Regions from separate parts of the Homo sapiens genome. Here regions 1, 2, 3 and 4 are each linked to region 5. Evidence: promoter capture Hi-C in 16 types of primary human blood cells and fetal thymus (Javierre and others, 2016). All regions are on one chromosome and are shown on one strand. Each heading gives the region's core, a stretch centred on a gene start or on the middle of the fragment in contact. The rest is flanking DNA. Distances are from core to core; before and after follow the strand shown. Region 1 overlaps ERBB2 (erb-b2 receptor tyrosine kinase 2). Region 2 overlaps RAPGEFL1 (Rap guanine nucleotide exchange factor like 1). Region 3 overlaps IKZF3 (IKAROS family zinc finger 3). Region 4 overlaps IKZF3 (IKAROS family zinc finger 3). Region 5 holds the start of GSDMA (gasdermin A).

Region 1 (2,700 bases), core at 5-2,504, 250 kb after region 5:
TTTTAACAATGTGTTATTTTTGTCATCAGAAACAAGATATGACAAAGGGAGAGTTGGTCCCCTTTTATAGTAAGAGCCCCAGAAAGACCCCTGAAAGGAAAGTCCTCCTTTCTGCAGAAAAGACCGTTGGACTCACGAGTGGGTGCAGTTGATGGGGCAAGGCTGGCATGCGCCCTCCTCATCTGGAAACTTCCAGATGGGCATGTAGGAGAGGTCAGGTTTCACACCGCTGGGGCAGCGGGCCACGCAGAAGGGAGGGTCCTTATAGTGGGCACAGGCCACACACTGGTCAGCCTCCTGGGGGGGGCAGAAAAGATTTGTGGGGGGCTGGCACTGACACCCCCAGGGCAGTAGGATCAGGCCCTTAGTTGGGTCCCCTTTGTGCTTCCCAAGGCCACCCAGCAGCAATTTTCGCCATGCTCCTGGGACAAACACCCTTGCTCTTCACCCAGTCTCTGTGGCCCCTCCCTCGGGGCCCTCCTCCAAGCTTGATCCTGGGCAGGGACTTGAGCCAGAAAATGGGAGGCACCCAGAGAGGAAAACGCATTACCTAAGGTGTAACAGCGAGTAACAACAGTCACTGCTCTGTAGAAAGCCTTTCCCGTGCTTCACTGTGCCAAGCCCTGTTTAATTTCATTCTTGCCACACCCCAGCAAGGTAGGTATTATTACAATACCCATTTTAGGAATAAAAAACCAAGGTTGGAAGCAGGAGCTGGGTCTGAATCCAGGTAGTCTGACGCCTGAGCCCACAGGGCTCACCACCCTAGCACAGCCACAGTCACAGCCACCAACACAGACCTCCTTAGAACCTTTTCATAGTCTGAAGGGCCCCAGTGTCCCCCAGGCCCCTTTTCTGCCACTCTGTTGCTGTTCAGGTCTGAGCGCTGAGCCCTCTCCAGGGATATTTTACCAGATAGCACACCCTACTGCATCTCGCCATCCTGCCAAGTCCCTGGCAATCCCCCTCGCTGCCCCCCTCCACCCAGCTCTGAGCCCGCCAGCAGCTCACCGGTCCAAAACAGGTCACTGAGCCATTCTGGGGCTGACACTCAGGGTGGCACGGCAAACAGTGCCTGGCATTCACATACTCCCTGGGGAGCCTGAGAGAAGGGACAGTGGTGAGGGGGTCTGAGAGGAGCCCCATGCACCCCTCCAGCCACCCTCTCCTCCGCCCCTCATACCCCTGCAGTACTCGGCATTCCTCCACGCACTCCTGGCCCCGAAGGAACTGGCTGCAGTTGACACACTGGGTGGGCCCTGGACCCCAGCAGTGCCCTCGGGCGCACAGCTGGTGGCAGGCCAGGCCCTCGCCCACTGCAGTGAGGAGGAAGGGACCGCAGGGGACTTTTAGGGGAGGCCCCAGGTCCAAGTGAACCAGGGAACTGGCTGTGGGCATGGCTGTGGGCTGGAGGGGTGGGGACAGGTGGGGCCGATGTAGGGAGAGGAAGAGTTCTGAGATTTCAGAAACAGAGGGGGAGGGAAGGATGCCAAGGCAGGTAGGACCCAGCTAGAGAAGCCATGCCAAGAGGCCAAGCCAGCCAGAGCTGTGCTGAGTCAAGAAGGGTGCACAGAGACGGGCAGTCTGCACAAGTCCAAGAACGCTGCTGCCAGGGCCCCCTGGGCACTGCTGTGTGCTGGCAGATGGGGAGTGCGCACACTGGGCTCCCTGTCTTACCACACTCGTCCTCTGGCCGGTTGGCAGTGTGGAGCAGAGCTTGGTGCGGGTTCCGAAAGAGCTGGTCCCAGGGCACCGTGTGCACGAAGCAGAGGTGGGTGTTATGGTGGATGAGGGCCAGTCCACTGCCCAGTTCCCTCAGTGAGCGCAGCCCCAGCCAGCTGATGCCCAGCCCTTGCAGGGTCAGCGAGTAGGCGCCACTATGGGAGAAAGGTGGGCACCTTACCACGGACCCCTTCCCGGTCAGCAAAGGCTATTCTCATCTTCCTCCATCCCCAGCACACTCTGCAGACTTTCATGGAAAGGTTACTGCTACAGGAGTACTCCCTCAGGCCCAAAGCTTCCCACAGGGACTCCTCCCTGGGACTCCTCCCCATCAGGCCCCCTCTTTCTCAGTGCTCACTTGTGCAGAATTCGTCCCCGGATTACTTGCAGGTTCTGGAAGACGCTGAGGTCAGGCAGGCTGTCCGGCCATGCTGAGATGTATAGGTAACCTGCAGGCAGAGGGTGAGATTAAAGGAGTGGGGACAGGACAAGGACTCCCAGCCCCTGCAGAACAGGATGCAGAGACAGAGCCCACCTGTGATCTCTTCCAGAGTCTCAAACACTTGGAGCTGCTCTGGCTGGAGCGGGGCAGTGTTGGAGGCTGGGTCCCTGGAGGGGTCAGGAGAGGAGTCAGCAGGGCCAGGAACAGGGTGGACATCACTCCCAGCACTGGCCATGCCAGCCACTCCCCACCATGAATGCCTTCACTCAAACCCTTTGCCCATCGAGCCCAGCTGTTCCCATCCTGGGCTTCAAAGCCCAGGCCTTAGTTCGGCAACATCTATCAAAACAGTATTTATATCCTTTGATCTAGAAATCTTATTTCTGCCTGGGCTCAGTGGCTCACGCCTGTAATCCCAGCACTTTGGGAGGCCGAGGCGGGCGGATCACGAAGTCAAGAGATGGAGACCATCCTGGCCAACATGGTGAAACCCCATCTCTACTACAAATACAAAAATTAGCTGGGTGTGGTGCCGC
Region 2 (2,700 bases), core at 169-2,668, 230 kb before region 5:
GCTTCATTTTGGAGATCACTTCTCGGTAGCTTTTGTGGTTCCTGCAGGGGTCCTAGTATTCCACAGGAGAGAGATCAAGGGACAGACTGGCCAATGCATCCCAAAGATGTCCTCAGCTTCCTCCCTCACCCCCTGCCTTGTATACATTCCTGATCAGATAGGGGTGCTGGGGGCTTTCTAATGGTGTGGTGGGGAGGGACCTGACTACTCCCCCTTTCCTTCAAGAAAAACAGGGGCGCAATCCTTCCAACCTCACCCTCCAGCATGGTAAGGAGGGTGGGGGGTCCCATACACTAAACACCTTGAAAGGAAAGCTTGAGGAAGGGGGTTTATGGGAACAGAGGGTTTCTGGGCTCTCAGTCCAAGAGCAGAAGAAAGAGCCAAACCCACTCACCGTCAGGTTCTCAAATTTGCGAAACAAGTTCTTGAATTTCCCTGGCAGCTTCTGCAGAGTTTGAAGGAAGGAGAAGGGATATCAGAGTGGAGCTCCTTGGGTTACATGGGAGCCTCGGATTAATTCTCCCTGTTGGAGGGCAAAAGGGCCTGCATGGCTTGTAGGGGGCTGGGAAGCTGGTGGGTGGGGAAATGAAGTCAGGCCTTGGCTAAGTCTAGAGGCTTGAAACAGCCCAGAGGAATTCATTATTCTGGGGAAGGCCAGGTCTGTCTTATGCAGGTGCTTTGTATAAAGATGCCCCCACTGAGTGTGGATGAAAATCAGCCCAACTCCCACAGCCAAGTCTGCGACCTGACCTGGCCAAGGGCTGCCTGCCGTGACTCAGGCGGGATCCGGGCTTTTCACTAATTTGCACAAAGACAGGGTCCATTAGCCAAGCTGTGCGCCCTGGGGTTGCGTATGCCAGAAGAGGGCGCCTCCCTCCAACTGGCGCAAAGACTCCCTCCAGGCCGGCGGCCGTCCCGGGAGGACGCACTTCGGGGAGCCCGGGATGCCCAGATTCCCAGGTAGGAACGGGAGGGGTCTCATCACCTCCCAGGTGAGTCGAAGGCGGCTGACAGCGGCGTTGTCCAGCCCCATGACCACGGCGTAGAAAGACAGCAGGTCCTGGTTCTGCTTGCAGCTGCGGGGGTGGGAGGCGGGGTCAGGGGCGGGCGGCGGCGCGGGCCTCCGGCCTCCGGCCCCCCATCCCGCCGACGGCCGCACTCACAGGGCCGCGATCTTGATGAACTTCTTGAGCAGCTGCGCGCGCTTGCCCGGGGCCTCGCAGAGCAGCACTTCGGTGGCCACCCAGTGCGTGACCTCGCTGCAGCGCTGCAGCAGCAGCTCCAAGTTGGCCGTCTCCCGGCGGCCGCGCTCCCCGTGGAACACGTAGTCCACGAACTCCAGCTGCACCCACGGCAGCGGAGGGGCGGCCAGGGCGCCAGGGGGTGAGGGGAGTGGGTGGGAAGATGGCAGTGCAAGGCGATGAGGAGCGAAAGGCAGGAGGGCGGGGGCGGAAGGGGTGGAAAATAGAAAAATAGAAAGGACAGGAGGCGGCAAAGATGCGGAAAAAGAAAACAACCAGCATTAATAATATTTCACCAGCTACTGAGCACTTACTAGGTGCCAGGCATTCGCTCACGGCTGACATCCTCAAGACAACCATCTGCTAGGCATTATTGTCTCTGCCTTATTTTATTTCTTTAATAGTGAATATTTTAAAAATAGAAATCCTGGGTCAGGTTCTGTGTAAACAGCACTTGGGCCCTGAGCCACTGTGCTCTGGGGTCTCTCTCTTTGCGATTTTTTTCAGATGGGGGAACAAAGGTTACGGCCATGCGTTGCCCAAGGGCTTGCTGCAAGTGAGCCTTGGAACCAGGACGTTGTGCTGCGAACACCGTCTCCCAATGGCACATTTCTCCCTCCAGCCCCCCAGCATAGCACCAGCCTCGGTCCCCACCTCATGCACACATCGGAACAGCTCCCAGTGGAAGGCAGTTAGGTGGTTGGCAACGTCCTCAGGCTCCACTCGGTGGATCTCTGTGTCTCCAGGGGAGACCTGGATCTCCTCGGGGAGGGGCACCTGGTGGCAGGCAGGGGCATAGGGGCTGGGCTCCTGGTGGCAGGGTGAGGGATTGCTCACAGCCCTCCTCAGCCCTCCATTCCAGTCAAGGCCTTGGGAAGTTCTTACCAGAGCCTCATAGCTGTCCCGAGTACAGGCAAACAGGTGGCTGTTGATGCCCAGTGCGGTGAAAACACAGTCCTCAGTGGGCTGGAGAAGGACCTTCTCTGCAGGAGAAAGAGCTGCTCATCCTCGGCCCCTGCCGCCTGCACCCTCACACATCCCACACTGACACTGTCCTATCCAAAAACTCCTCACCCCACACTGACACATTCTAGACTAATGGAACTCATCTTATCACTAGTTTATGCCATATTTATCTGGAATTTGTCAAATGATTATTTCTTTTGCATTTATAACTTTTTTTCTACTCCCTTTCTTTCACAGCTTTTCTCTTACTCTGTTGTCCTTGTGACACTGGGAAGGCTGAAATTTTTTCCTACTGTAGAGGAAAACAAAGCTTCAGTGACATTGCTGGCTTTCTGCCTTCCCACTCATCCTGTGTCTTTAGCCTGTGAAATGTGGCATCCTTACATACACAGGGAGGTTAAAGGATCAGAATACAATCCATAGGTGAGTGAGGGGCAGCACTCAGATCAGAACCTGAGTCCTAGACCAGTGCCTCCCAAACTTTTTTTTTTTT
Region 3 (2,795 bases), core at 48-2,547, 160 kb after region 5:
TTCTTTGCTACAGCATGATTATTCTGGCAATAGGATGCAGTATAACAGAGGTCACATGTACCGTGGGCCAGTTAGGAGGCTAATGCAATGATATATTCATACACCAGGAATTTATGGGATGTCTACTTTATGTAGGGCACTGCATCTAACTCGAGGCAGTGGCTCTCAAACTCCATTGTGCATAAGGTTTATCTGGAGAGCATGGTTTTAAATGAACATTTCCAGTCTCCACCCCCAGATTAGTAGATCTATGGTAGGAGCCCCAAATTTTCTATTTTAAAACCACATAACCTCTGGTCTTACAGATACAGGTTAAGCAGTGTCATAGGGAATACTGAGTTAAACACACACACACACACACACACACGCACACACACACACAATCTGTATAGCTTCTGCCCTCAGCTAGTTTACATATTTATTGGGGAGACTAGGGGAGGTGAGTTCATAAGTAACCCAGGAAGAAGGAGCAGGCTATTTTCCAGCTGGGTTGATCAGAGAAGGCATAGTAGCCAGGAGACAGCATATTAGTTTGACCTTTAAAAATGTGTAGGACAGTGGCCAGGCGCAGTGGCTCATGCCTGTAATCCCAGCACTTTGGGAGGCCGAGGCCGGCGGATCACGAGGTCAGGAGATTGAGACCATCCTGGCTAACACAGTGAAACCCTGTCTCTACTAAAAATACAAAAAATTAGCTGGGTATGGTGGTGGGCGCCTGTAGTCCCAGCTACTCAGGAGGCTGAGCCAAGAGAATGGCATGAACCCGGGAGGCAGAAGTTGCAGTGAGCAGAGATCGCACCACTGCACTCCAGCCTGAGAGACAGAGAAAGACTCCGTCTCAAAAAAAAAAAAAAAATACGTAGGATGTGTAGGACTTGGACCTGTGGCCATATTGGGGAAAGATCTTTTAGGCAGTAGAAATAAGACTACTTAGAAGCTCTTTAGTTAAAGATCTAACTAGTCAAAATTAATATGCCAAAGATAGGTTGGGGCCAGATCCCGAAAGGCCTTTTAAATTATTTGTTTCTGAGTTTGGACTTTATTTTGTTGGCAGTGGAAAATATTGAAGAATTTTGACAGGGCTATGACATGACCAGAGGTAGAATTTAGGAAGAGCAATCTTGTAGCAACAAACAAGACGGGCTGGAAAGGAGAAAGAAGGGAGCCAAAGAGAACAGTGCGGGGGCTACAGCAATAAGTAGATCGTGGGAAAGTCATAGGGTCTGAGAATTAGGTAATGGGCATGCAAAATACAGGAGTGGAGAAACAGATTAGAGATTGGATACACAGATAGAACCACTGAATGATTGAATGTGGGGCCCAATCAGGAGAAAGGAAAGATGACTCTAAGGATTCTAGCCTGAGTAACTGGGAAGATACCTAGGAAGCCTTCAGAAATAGAGGACTAAAGAAAGGGAGAGAGGTTACACCTGGAGTTATATATATGGAAATTAATCATATAAGATGTTAGTCGAAGCCTTAAGAATGAATGAAATTGCCATACAAGAGGGGTGTAGAGGGAAGAAAAAAGAAGGTTAAGGACAGTATTTAGGATGCAGAGGGAAGAAAAGGGGCAAGAAGGAAGCAATCAGAAAGGCAAGGAAAGAAGGTACATTTTCATTGAAGAAATAGGAGTGCAGGGGCCGGGCACGGTGGCTCATGCCTGTAATCCCAACACTTTGGGAGGCCAAGACAGGTGGATCACCTGAAGTCAGGAGTTCGAGACCAGCCTGGCCAACATGGTAAAACCCTGTCTCTACTAAAAATACAGAAATTAGCCAGGTGTGGTGGCACGTGCCTATAGTCCCAGCTACTCGGGAGGCTGAGGCAGGAGAATCGCTTGGACCTGGGAAGCAGAGGTTGCAGTGAGCCGAGATCGCACCACTGTACTCTAGCCTGGGCAACAGAGTGAGACTCTGTCTCAAAAAAAAAAAAAAAGAAAGAAAGAAAAGACATAGGAGTGCAGAAGAACAAGGAATGGTGAGTGGTCAGTAGTGTTGAGGATTACAAAGAAGTTGGAGAGAGTGGCATACAAAAAGGCTCTGAATCTAGGAATCAGGAGATTATGGTTGGTGATATTCAAGGGAGCAGATTAAGTGAATTGTGGAGGCGGAAGCCATATTACAGAGAATTCTGAGTCCTTTTTGAGGCTGTAGAGGCAGTAAGCATAGCTTACCTATGTCTTTTTTTTTTTTTCTTGAGACGGAGTCTCACTTTGTCACCCAAGCTGGAGTGCAGTGGTGGGATCTCAGCTCACTGCAACCTCCACTTCCCAGGTTCAAGCGATTCTCCTGCCTCAGCCTCTTGAGTAGCTGGGACTATAGGCGCACACCACCACGCCTGGCTAATTTTTTTGTATTTTTAGTAGAGATGGGGTTTCACCATGTTAGTCAGGATGGTCTCGATCTCCTGACCTCATGATCCACCCGCCTCGGCCTCCCAAAGTGCTGGAATTACAGGTGTGAGCCACCGCTCCTGGACCACCTGTGTCTTAAATCTGTCTAGAAAGGAATGTTGAGGCCGAGCGCAGTGGCTCACTCCTGTAATCCCAGCAGTTTGGGAGGCCGAGGTGGGTGGATCACGAGGTCAGGAGTTCAAGACCAGCCTGGCCAAGATGGTGAAACCCCGTCTCTACTAAAAAAAAAAAATTAAAAAAATAGCCAGGTGTGGTGGTGGGCACCTGTAATCCCAGCTACTCAGGAGGCTGAGGCAGGAGAATCGCTTGAACCAGGGAGGCAGAGGTTGCAGTGAGCCGAGATCACACCACTGCTCTCCAGCCTGGGCAACAGAGTGAG
Region 4 (2,774 bases), core at 213-2,712, 180 kb after region 5:
TTTAGACAGAGTCTCACTCTGTCACGCAGGCTGGAGTGCACTGGCACTAATAGGTTGGTGCAAAAGTAATTGTGGTCTTTGCAGTTACCTTAATAGTTCACCGTAACCTCAAACCCCTGGGCTCAAGGAACCCTCCCACCTCAGTCTCCCAAGTAGCTAGGACTACAGGCGCATGCCAACATGCCCAGCTAATTTTTTAAAATTACTTTTTGTAGGAACAGGATCTTGCTATATTGCCCAGGTTGGTCTCAACTCCTGGCCTCAAGCAATCTTCCTGCCTCAGTCTCCCAAAGCACTGGGATTACAGGGGTGAGCCACTGTGCCAGCCACTACTTGCTTTTTACTCTAATCCCTTAAACTAATTTCAATTTATTCTTCCTTAGACATAATAGAAATGTATGGATAGTTCATTTTAGTTTGGATCTCCCGAAGTGTTTATGAGAAAACAGAGAAAAATGTTTACAGCATCACAATATGTTTGCCCAGGGCAGGTGAGGGCAAACTGTGGCGCTCTAGGCAAGTGCAGCCAGTGGCCTGTTTGTGTACAGGGATTTTTACGTTTTTAAAAGGCCGTGGAACAGAAAAAAAAAAAACAAAAAACAAAGAATATAACATAGAGACTATATGTGTCTGGCAAATTTTTAAAATTTACTGTCTGGCCCTTTACAGACAAAAGTTTGCTGATCCCTGGTTCAGGCTAGCATCATGTGTTAAAATGTCAAGCCTTGTATTTAGAGAAGCTGGTATCTCTTTGAAATTTATTTAATTAATTTATTTATTTTTTGGAGATGGAGTTTTGCTCTTATTGCCCAGGCTGGAGTGCAATGGCTCAATCTCGGCTCACCACAACCTCTGCCTCCTGGGTTCAAGCGATTCTCCGGCCTCAGCCTCCCGAGAGCTAAGATTACAGGCATTCGCCACCACACCCAGCTAATTATTTATATTTTTAGTAGAGATGGGGTTTCTCCATGTTGGTCAGGCTGGTCTTGAACTCCCGACCTCAGGTGATCTGCCCGCCTCGGCCTTGCAAAGTGCTGGGATTATAGACGTGAGCCACCGTGCCTGGCCTTCTTTGAACTTTAGACATAAATTTGGGCACTGCCTGCTGAATTGAGGTAAATTATATTCATTACAGTTTACTATTTTAGTTGATTAGATATTGCCACTATTTATATACTCTTCTAGTAGTTCTCAATTCTGGCTGCATTTTAAAATCATCTGGGGAGCTTTGAAAATATTCTTGCCTAGGCCCCTATACCAGAAATCCTGATTTAATTGATCTGAAGGGGGGCCTGGGCATAGGTATTTCTTACCTGCTATTCAGGTGAGTCTAATGTGCAGCCAGGTCTGAGAACCACAGGCCTACACCACTCACAGGTCTATTTGTGGATGGGCCCACATTCATAGGCAGGTTTTTTTGTGTTTTGTTTGTTTCTTTGTTTTTTGAGACGGAATTTTGCCCTTGTTGCCCAGGCAGGAGTGCAATGGCGCCATCTCGGCTCACTGCAACCTCTGCCTCCCAGGTTCAAGTGATTCTCCTGCCTCAGCCTCCCGAGTAGCTGGGATTACAGGCATGCACCATCACACCAGGCTAATTTTGTATTTTTAGTAGAGACAGGGTTTCTCCAAGTTGGTCAGGCTGGTCTCGAACTCCGACCTCAGGTGATCTGCCCACCTCCACCTCCCAAAGTGCTGGGATTACAGGCATGAGCCACCGCACCCAGCCCATAGGCAGTTTTTATTCACATTTTTATTAGAAATTCAATACAGATGCATTATACAAATTGTTCTTTAATTTCAAGGCAGAAGTGTTGCTTAGGGAAATTTTAATTGAGACTATTTTGAAATGTGAAGAGCATATGAAACAGATAATACAGAGCACAGAGAAACAGAATATGAAAGATAGGAACTGAGAGGAGCGTGCTGAAAAAAAAAAAGAAAAAGAAAAAGAAAGAAACCACTCAGAATTTCAATACACAAATCACTGAGTAGATGTCTTGCTATCTGTGTGAGTGTACCTATTTTCAAAAGTGCTGTTAACATAAACAGAGCAGTAAATCTGGGGCACCATGCTTTTTTTTCAAAGTTGTTAAGAATTATATCAGTCTGCAGGTGTCACACGCAGTTACTCAGAATCAGAAAGAAGGCTGATCGGGGGTTAGATCTCCATCTATCTATCTTTTTGCAACCAACCACGTCCAGGCTGTTTATTTAATACTTCCTCTTGCTAATGAAGGTACTGGTTGGGGATGGGTCGAGCTTTCCCATCTCGGCATAAGACTGCAAGATTTGAATGTGCCCTGGTGTCGGCTTCACTGACCACAGCAGGTACCCCAGGCAAGAATCTGAGCAGTTATAACAGGTAACAACAATAGAGTGTGCATCCAACTTCGGACACTTCTCCTTCCAGTTTATTTCCTTTTCTCCCCATGTACCAATGTGTTCTTTTCTCTCTTCTTTTTACATTTTTCCAAACTAGCAAGTGCGGAGGCAAGACACATCAAAGCAGAGATGGGAAGTGAAAGAGCTCTCGTACTGGACAGATTAGCAAGCAATGTGGCAAAACGAAAAAGCTCAATGCCTCAGAAATTCATTGGTAAGAATACAAACCTTTTTCCTGCTGTTGTTAGCAGATAGTTTGAATGAAATAACATAGGATGCTTGCTACACAAGGCCTTTCCTAGCTTAACCTCTGTTAAAATAATTAGTTTTTCATTGTGTACTTTTATTCTTCATGGTTCATTCTGATAGCTCTGGAAAATAGAATAAAAGAT
Region 5 (2,700 bases), core at 16-2,515:
TGCTCTTCACCTTTGCCCCCTCTGCTTACAATACCCGCTTCCGGATCTGAAGACTCCCTAGTCCTCCGCTAATGCTCAATTCAGGTCACCTCCTGGAACCTCTTCCCTCAGTCCTCCAGGCAGCTGGTGACTGTATCTGTGTTTCCAAAGCGCTCTTCTGATGCACCTTCCTTTGTTATGATCTGTTCACCTGACCCTATCAGCAACTCGTCTGTGACTTCCCAGAGGGCAGGAAATGGGTCTTAGTCACCTCTGCAGCAGCAAGTACCACACCTGGCACAGAGTTCGAGCTTGGCAAATGTGTGTGGAAAGAACCAATGAATGTGGCCCTGAGAGATGTGCGCTAGGATGAGAGGGCCCTGGAGAATGTGGGGCCCATGGGAACCTGAGAGGCAACATTTTTTTTTTCTTTTTGAGATGGAGTTTCATTCTTGTTGCCCAGGCTGGAGTGCAATGGCATGATCTCGGCTCACTGCAACCTCCATCTCCTGGGTTCAAGTGATTCTCCTGCCTCAGTCTCCCAGGTAGCTGGGATTACAGGCGCCTGCCACCATGCCCAGCTAATTTTTGTGTTTTTAGTAGAGACGGTGTTTCACCATGTTGGCCAGGCTGGTCTTGAACTCCTGACCTCAGGTGATCCGCCCATCTCACCCTCCCAAAGTGCTGGGATTACAGGTGTGAGCCACCGCACCTGACCTGAGGGTCAACATCTTAAGTCTCTGTCTTTGAAGTTTGAGTCCAGGTGCTCTGGCTGGGTGGCCGATCGGCACACCCCAGTTATCCCCGTGGGTGGAAGAGGCCACACCAGCTGGCTTGGAAGCATCCCACATCCACCACAGGCACTTCACAGCAGCAGGGGGGGCAGGAAGCACGGCACAGATGCGTGGGGCTGTTCTGCCAGCTTCAAGGTGCTTTTTTTTTTTCACCCTCATTCCTGGGAGGGCCAGGATGGGGCAGGACAACCTCCTGGTGCTACCTGGGTGCACCTGGGAAGGGCTTGGGCAACAGCAGCCTCCTCTTCACCAGAGAGATGTCCACAGGCCTGCCTCTCCCTTCCCTCCCCAAGGCCTATCGGGATACTTATCCCACTGGACTCTAGGGGAGTTCCATTCCCTTCTTGGTCCACCCATCTTCCTGTGTCCTCAGAGCACCCCTGCCTTCCCTGCTGTCATCAAGTTCTTACCTGGGAGCGGGGCTGGGTCCTATCCAGCAGCTGGGTCTGGGGTGAGGGCCTAGGGCTCACTGGGTCTGTAGGTTGAGAGGATGACCATCCCTTGCCAGGACAGGCTGCTTTATGCAGGGACAGAGGCTTCCGGGGACCCCGCCTGCCCTAGTGACCCCACCCCCCTCCCACTCCACTTCCTGGAGAACAACATCAACCTGTTCCACGTGTGCCCTGGCCTCCTGAGGGCTGAGGGGGTGGATAGGGAGCTGCCAGGCAGGTGCCAGCGTGGGTGGGGGTAGCCAAGGCTGATAGAGAGGTGGCAGCTGGAGGTTGGCTTGTGGATTGAGAGGAGAGGAAGGCAGGTGCCTTTGGGAGGGGTGCAGAGGGAGGCAGTGGGAGTGTGTGTGTGTGTGTGTGTGTGTGTGTGACCAGGGATGGCATCTCTGTTCTGTCATCATCACCGTCATTGGGGAGCATCTCGGATTCATGGTGGGGGTCTGCGGGTGTCCTGGGATAGGGATTCCTGTATGTCCACACATTCCAGTAGAGAGCAGAGCATCTGCAGTGCCGCCCTCCATCCTGGGCTTGTCAGCCTGTGTGTATTGCTGCCTTACTCCATTTGTTTTAGCTACATAGACATAACTCTGATACCGCTAGAAGCAGATGTCTGAGTAGGCAGAGATGGAGTTAGACCAAATGGGTTTGTGTTGTTTAGTGTTCAGCGTCTCTGCTTCTCACAGAATATTGTATACACACATCAGCATATCCGTAGGCAGGGGCACGGCGATATTCATGGAAAAGCCCAGGAGGCTTGTCGTGGGCTTTCAGATGTTGCACCAGAGGTCACTCAGGTCCTCCTCTTAGCTTAAATCTCTGCCTAGAAGGAATTTTAAAGGAATTTCAAATGTTGCCTACATGGTCACATTGCTAGAGGACAGAATAAGGGACTTACAAGCAAGGCCCTTACAGTGTTGGGCCATGTGGCCATGCATATGTGCAGGTATAACCTGACACAGCAGAGCCTTCCTGCTCCCACCTTGAGGCTCTTCTTAGTACCACTCATGGAAAAAGAAACGCAACCCTGAATGCTGTGAAGAGTAAATTCCATCTTTTTTTTTTTTGAGAAGGAGTCTCGCTCTGTCCTCCAGGCTGGAGTGCAGCGGTGCAATCTCAGCTCACTGCAACTTCCACCTCCCGGGTTCAAACAGTTCTCTGCCTCAGCCTCCCGAGTAGCTGGGATTACAGGCATGCACCACCATGCCTGGCTAGTTTTGTATTTTTATTAGAGACGGGGTTTCGCCATGTTGGCCAGGAGGGTCTTGATCTCCTGACCTCATGATCCGCCCGCCTCGGCCTCCCAAAGTGCTGGGATTACAGGATGAGCCACTGCGCCCGGCCAATTCCATCTTTACTGAACGTTTCCTTGAGGGGCTGATGGTGAATGAGACTAGACCATTCCACACTTAGGAAAACTCCCTAAAATAGTCATTACTCCACTTGTGTCCCCAAAGTCTCATTCAATATGACAGATGCTC

Evidence for each region. The method cuts DNA at HindIII sites, captures the fragments that hold promoters and counts their contacts. A CHiCAGO score of 5 or more calls a contact.
Region 1: a contact is called between a fragment that was not itself captured here and the fragment with the promoter of GSDMA in region 5, in 1 of 17 cell types (activated CD4 T cells). The highest score is 5.8, in activated CD4 T cells.
Region 2: a contact is called between a fragment that was not itself captured here and the fragment with the promoter of GSDMA in region 5, in 1 of 17 cell types (endothelial precursors). The highest score is 5.4, in endothelial precursors.
Region 3: a contact is called between a fragment that was not itself captured here and the fragment with the promoter of GSDMA in region 5, in 1 of 17 cell types (activated CD4 T cells). The highest score is 6.8, in activated CD4 T cells.
Region 4: a fragment that was not itself captured here is called in contact with the fragment with the promoter of GSDMA in region 5 in 7 of 17 cell types (activated CD4 T cells, naive CD4 T cells, total CD4 T cells and 4 more); the score reaches 7.5 in activated CD4 T cells.

Annotation. Positions count from the first base shown.
Region 1 is chr17:39,714,917-39,717,616 of GRCh38, reverse strand. ERBB2 (erb-b2 receptor tyrosine kinase 2) reads right to left here. Exons shown (of 27, transcript NM_004448.4): 10 at 2,258-2,331; 11 at 2,081-2,171; 12 at 1,678-1,877; 13 at 1,184-1,316; 14 at 1,012-1,102; 15 at 137-297. Among named protein-coding and RNA genes, the nearest start is that of MIR4728, 10 kb to the left of the region's middle. The HindIII fragment of the contact is 1,530 bases long and covers 490-2,019 here.
Region 2 is chr17:40,189,958-40,192,657 of GRCh38, reverse strand. It overlaps RAPGEFL1 (Rap guanine nucleotide exchange factor like 1), which reads right to left. Exons shown (of 15, transcript NM_016339.6): 7 at 2,127-2,224; 8 at 1,896-2,018; 9 at 1,164-1,342; 10 at 986-1,076; 11 at 395-445; 12 at 1-52. Among named protein-coding and RNA genes, the nearest start is that of MIR6867, 2.3 kb to the left of the region's middle. RefSeq lists an enhancer at 917-996 and a silencer at 1,117-1,176. The HindIII fragment of the contact is 2,203 bases long and covers 317-2,519 here.
Region 3 is chr17:39,796,569-39,799,363 of GRCh38, reverse strand. The region is part of intron 3 of IKZF3 (IKAROS family zinc finger 3); the gene reads left to right. Among named protein-coding and RNA genes, the nearest start is that of GRB7, 60 kb to the right of the region's middle. The HindIII fragment of the contact is 6,358 bases long and covers 1-2,795 here.
Region 4 is chr17:39,777,473-39,780,246 of GRCh38, reverse strand. IKZF3 (IKAROS family zinc finger 3) reads left to right here. Exons shown (of 8, transcript NM_012481.5): 7 at 2,480-2,596. Among named protein-coding and RNA genes, the nearest start is that of GRB7, 41 kb to the right of the region's middle. RefSeq lists a silencer at 1,633-1,866. The HindIII fragment of the contact is 4,957 bases long and covers 1-2,774 here.
Region 5 is chr17:39,961,569-39,964,268 of GRCh38, reverse strand. It overlaps GSDMA (gasdermin A), which reads right to left and starts at 1,265. Exons shown (of 12, transcript NM_178171.5): 1 at 1,184-1,265. The HindIII fragment of the contact is 5,749 bases long and covers 1-2,700 here.